2 separate regions of the Homo sapiens genome follow, and region 1 is linked to region 2. The links are contacts of gene promoters, found by promoter capture Hi-C in human tissues and cell types (Jung and others, 2019). All regions are on one chromosome and are shown on one strand. The core of a region is centred on a gene start or on the middle of the fragment in contact, and the rest is flanking DNA. Distances in the headings are between cores, read along the strand shown. Region 1 overlaps FRYL (FRY like transcription coactivator). Region 2 holds the start of CWH43 (cell wall biogenesis 43 C-terminal homolog).

Evidence for each region. The method cuts DNA at HindIII sites, captures the fragments that hold promoters and counts their contacts. A contact is called where the count stands out against the background at its distance.
Region 1: a fragment that was not itself captured here is called in contact with the fragment with the promoter of CWH43 in region 2 in 2 of the 25 tissues and cell types used here (dorsolateral prefrontal cortex and mesenchymal stem cells).

The regions. Positions count from the first base shown.
Region 1 is chr4:48,604,417-48,607,116 of GRCh38, reverse strand. It overlaps FRYL (FRY like transcription coactivator), which reads left to right. Exons shown (of 64, transcript NM_015030.2): 10 at 511-679; 11 at 1,284-1,376. Among named protein-coding and RNA genes, the nearest start is that of ZAR1, 120 kb to the right of the region's middle. The HindIII fragment of the contact is 7,255 bases long and covers 1-2,700 here.
Region 2 is chr4:48,984,856-48,987,555 of GRCh38, reverse strand. CWH43 (cell wall biogenesis 43 C-terminal homolog) reads right to left here and starts at 1,281. Exons shown (of 16, transcript NM_025087.3): 1 at 1,084-1,281. The coding sequence starts at 1,126. The HindIII fragment of the contact is 14,941 bases long and covers 1-2,700 here.

The sequences.
Region 1 (2,700 bases), core at 146-2,645, 380 kb after region 2:
ATGCTCACATTTCAAAAGCCTTTTGGCAGTGTAATGATGTATTGATTTTAAGTGATAATTAGTACTGTATGATTGATTGGCTTATCTCTGTGAACAAATTTATAGTCTCCAATATGCTCTCCATATAACTAATTGCAGACTTTATATAAAAAGAGCCTTAAAAGTTGGAGACACTGATTTACATGGTGGCGTTTTGTGGGTTGGTTATTTGATATTATTCTATTATGGTTATTAATTAAATGGTAATGGTGGTGTCTTGATAATATTATAGGAATAAAGAAATCCTATTATTTCTCCTTCAGAAACTTTTAATTTAATTTTAAAAGAAATGAACAGCAAATTTAGAGTAGCAATTTTTATTTTCCTCTGTGTGCCTTTCTGGCAATTGTAATGAAGGTAGAGAAAGGAGATGATATTTAGGTAGCATACCTTTTGATTTTTACCCTTAAATATCATGTGGAAATTAGTGTTTTTAATTCAAATCAAATGATGTCTCCACGTATATTAAAGGTTTCAGGCTGTAAGGAAGAAGTTTGTGACAGAATTAAAAGAACTGCGACAAAAGGAACAAAGCCCACATGTGGTACAAAGTGTCATCAGCTTAATAATGGGAATGAAATTTTTTCGAGTAAAAATGTATCCTGTAGAAGATTTTGAAGCATCATTTCAATTTATGCAGGTGATATACCTTCTAAATGACAGTAAATAGAGCAAGCCTAACAGTCCTTGCTCTTCATGACTTTTTAAAAGAAACAAAATACACGTAAATTAATGGCATCATTTTTAGTCTCTTATTCCATGTGTTAAGTTGTTCTAAGTGTAAATTAATTTTTTTTTTTTCCTTGAGACAGAGTCTCACTCTGTCACCCAGGCTGGAGTGCAGTGGCATGATCTCGGCTCACTGCAACCTCCACCTTCCTGATTGAAGCGATTCTCCTGCCTCAGGCACCCGAGTAGTTGGGATTACAGGCGCCTGCCACCAGGCCCGGCTAATTTTTTTTTTTTTTTTTTTTTTTTTTCTTTAGTAGAGACGGGATTTCACCATGTTGGCCAGGCTGGTCTCCAACTCCTCACCTCAGGTGATCTGCCCGCCTCAGCCTCCCAAAGTGGTGGGATTACAGGTGTGAGCCACCGCACCCAGCCAGCTTTGTTTTTTGACTTGAAGATGCATTGACCTTAGTTTTTTGGTAAAATGACAGAGTGTTCACAAAATGATGTGATATTACAAATTCTTTAACCTTTCCTCTTTTGTTAATCTAAGTATATACCTCTTTCCCTTTAAGGAATGTGCTCAGTATTTCTTAGAAGTGAAAGATAAAGATATAAAACATGCACTTGCTGGTTTATTTGTGGAGATTCTTATCCCTGTAGCTGCTGTAAGTATTTTTCTTATTTTCATACCATTTGTGTGTTATACAAGAACCTTATCAACCTTATACTTTTATTTTTTGTCCTAAAAATACTTACATGACAATAAGCTGTGGCCATGGGAAGGCTCGTCTCATTTGCTCCCTGTTGCTCAGAGGTCTCTTCCTTTTGTTGATCATACAATGTTTTAGAGATCGTTTCATGTATTTTGTTTTTTGGTTGTTGCAGATGGTAGGGGAAATCCAGCTCCATCTTGGCTAGAAATGGAGATTAATTACATTCTTTTTGTTCAGATTTTATTCTAATTAAAATCTCAAAAATGAAGAAATGTATTACATGTTGAAAAATTGAACTGTTTTGGCTTTCATTTTTAAACATTGAATTCACTTACTTGTGACCTATGGGCTTATATGAATTGGTTTGTAGTATTCAGGTCCTACCTTTAGAGCATGTTTTGAAAAGGTGAACAGAGAATTGTTTTAAAAGTTAAGAATTTGAAATATTAATGAGAGTGATTGACGTGTTTTTTAAAACCTGTTTTGCATTGAAGATTTTTAAAAATGGGGACACACAAAACTCATAAATTAAAGGTTTGCAAGTGGTTTATTTGAGTTACACAGCCCCCGTTTCCTCCCACCCAGTTTTTAGCCATATGAATTGGGCTCATTTTATAAAAAAGAAAACAGGCTATCATGTATAAGTCATGTCAGTTTTAGTCTTTTATTAGATATGCACTTTGATTTCTTTTCCTGTAAGTTGTTTGAATTACTGTTTATCCCTTCCAAATGATCATTTGTACTTCACCCTTTGTTTGATCATCCTTTTTTTTTCTCCCAGATGGCTGAGATTAGGTTTTAGTTTTTAAGGCAGTTCGTCAAAAGGAGCAGGTTGTAGGAAGAGAGGCACTTGACAATGGTCCATTATCATCGTGTTGCCTGATTCTTTTATACCATATTTGCTTTTGTGTCCAGGTTTATTAGCCTGCTAGGACAGCCGTAATAAAGTACTGCAAACTGGATAGCTTAACAACAGAAATGTATATTGTCTCATATTTACGGAGGCTAGAGTGTGAGATCAAAGTGCCAGCAGGTTGGTTCCTTCTAAGAGCTGTGAGGAGGAACCTGCTCCATGCCCCTTGCTTAGCCTCTTGTGTGCACTGAAAATCTTTTGTGTTTCTTGGCTTGTAGAAGCATGGTTCTGAATCCTGCCTTCATTGTCACATGGCATTCTCCTTGAGTGTATGTCTGTGTCCAAATTTCCCCTTTTTAAAAGGACACCAGTCATGTGGATTAGGGTCTTCCCGATCCTAACTTAATTAATGTGATCTGCAAT
Region 2 (2,700 bases), core at 32-2,531:
GAACAAAACAACAAACAAAACACTGAGACTCAGAAAGTTAAGTGAGTACCTAAGGTTACACAAGTAGCAAATGTCAGAGTTGCCCTAACTCTAAGCAGCCTGGCTCCAAAGGTAGCCGGTCTAACCACTGGGCGTGGGAACTTTCTACCAACTGACTTTCCAACCTCCCCTTCTTAATCAGCAAAATAGGACTTTCAACCCCTTCACAGTGTTGTTGGGAGGATTAAATGAGATCAAGTGCACTGAGTACCTAGCACCTGAGGTACTTATTGAATGCTAGGCACTGTACATCTCCCAACTTATAGATACAGGCTGAGCCAGAAAAAAATAGTCTGAAGCACTCCCGAGAATTACCAGCTCCCAGAAAATCAAGTTCTCAGGAAGGCGCCCCACCCAGACCAGAGGGATCTTTGTTTTGTAACGAACCGGGGATTCTAGCAATATCCCAAATGTTTGTCTGGGAACTTTGATTTTATTACTCACACAGCTCCGACAGAATTACACCAATAAAATTGTCCTCGGGATTTTGCAAAGCTGGTGAGAGAGCAGATGAGACTCGAGTCTGATGCTTTTCGCCAAATGCCCAAGTGTGCAGCCGACACCAAGGCCACTTGTCCTGGGCCCAGCCCACGGCAGCAGCTGCCGCCCAGTGTCCACCTACAGCTCCTGGGGAAAACGGGTGCCCCTTTCCTTCTGAATTTTAAAGTTCAGCACTGAACTGTATTAAGTTAAACTTAAAGGCCACGGGTGGGGGGCTTTGGGGACGGTACCGGCCGCGCGGGGTCAAGGCCGACACGAGGAGAATTCGCGCTCCTTGGGCACAATCCCAGGGCTGCTGGGAACTCGGGCGACGGGGTCTCTCGCGGGCGCCTCGCAGACTCAGCTTGAAGACTTCAATCTAGGTCTTTTCCTTTATTCCCTTCAGTAGGAAAAGTTCCCAGGGGACGATAAGCATCTCCACTCTGGGCACGGAGCGCCCTTTTCCTCCTACCTGAACTCAGCCAACCTGGCCTGGCTCCACGGCTCTGGACATGGCCCGGGGAGCTGGCACCCGCGAACTCGCGGCGAGGGGCTTCGGCTTACCCAGCAGCGACTCCAAGAGGATTTCTCTCCACAGCGAGGGCATCGCCGCGGCGAGGGGCAGCGCTTTCCAGGAAAGCCGTGCGGGTCGGGCCCGCTGCCCTAGCCCTGCGCCCCCAGGTTCCCGCCGCCGCGTCCTCCCGGGCCTGCGTCCGCGCCCCTCGTTCCCGCGTCCCGTTGCCAAGTGAGCCCCAGCCAACTGACCCACTTGCCGAACCGAGGCAGTGTGGGGCCGGTCCGCCCGCCCCTTCACGACCACACCCAGCCTCGCCTGCCAGAGCCTGGCCAGGCCGGGCGCCACCTGTGCGCGTTGCGCCGCCTCCGGCGCCTCTGGTCCCCGCCTTTGCCTCCTTGGCGCGAGCCCCAGCGGCACCCTTGGCCGGTGCAGGGGACATGCGTCTCGGCTCTGACTCTGCTATTGGGCCCGAACCCGAAGCAACCCCGGGGATGCAGCGCTGCCAGAGCCCAGGAGGGAGCGAACAAGTGCAACTCCGGACCAGTGGTGCCCTCGTTTAGACTAGGCCCACGGGGTGCTCTGCGAGGAGAAGGCAGAGAGGAAGGACCGCTGGAGACCCAGATGGGGACCCTGGAGGAGCAGGTCCTGTGCACCAGCTCCAGCGCCCTGGAAGCCTTAGGGGACCACGGGGCGCGAACCCGACTGTGGCGATCTTCAGGCCAGGGCGACGCATCGGAAGCGTGCCGGCAGGGCCAGGGCCACTGCTGGGCCACTCTCAGCTTTGATAGTAAAAGTGCAATTTGTTAATTGCCTCCTAGCAAAGGGGCCCAAAATTCCAGCGGCTGCAAGATATTCTCAGGGGAGAGAAAGTAACTGATGCGAGTGGAAACCCGGCCCTCCCCTAGTTTATGAATAATGATATTTGAGAGTGCTTATCCCTAAAAAGAAGGTGGGAGACGTTCTGATTAATGTGGAGAGTGAACTAGGCCAGCTATTTCTCGCTCAAATGTATCACACTCCTGGATGTCTTGAACTTGTTTAAGAACCCCTGAAAGCAATTTATTTTAATGCACTTTAATTTCTTAAGGAGAGCTTATTATTTATCAGTTCCAGAAAGTTTGCTCTGAAATTAAACAATGATGGCATGCCCAAAAAGTATTAGAATCACATTAGCAGCAATCATTGCTATTAAGTCCATAGGAGTATTGAGCAAAGAGTTTTTTTCTGTTTTGTTGTGTTTGAGACGGAGTCCTGCTCTGTAGCCCAGGCTGGAGGGCGGTGGCATAATCTCGGCTCACTGCAACCTCCGCCTCCTGGGTTCAAGCGATTCTCCTGCCTCAGCCTCTCGCGCAGCTGGGACTACAGGCACGTGCCACCACACCCAGGTAATTTTTGTATTTTTAGTAAAGACGGGGTTTCACCATATTGGCCAGGCTGGTCTCAAACTCCTGACCTCATGATCCGCCCTCCTCGGCCGCCCAAAGTGCTGGGATTACCAGCGTGAGCCACCGCGCCTGACCAAGTAAACAGTTCTTAATCGGTTAATTACTAGCTCTCTCAATCTCAAGGGTAGATACATAGATTAATGGAATAGAAGTGAGAGACTGGAGATAAAAACCCCCTTTTAGGGTCAAATGAGTTTCACAAACTTGCCAAGACAATTC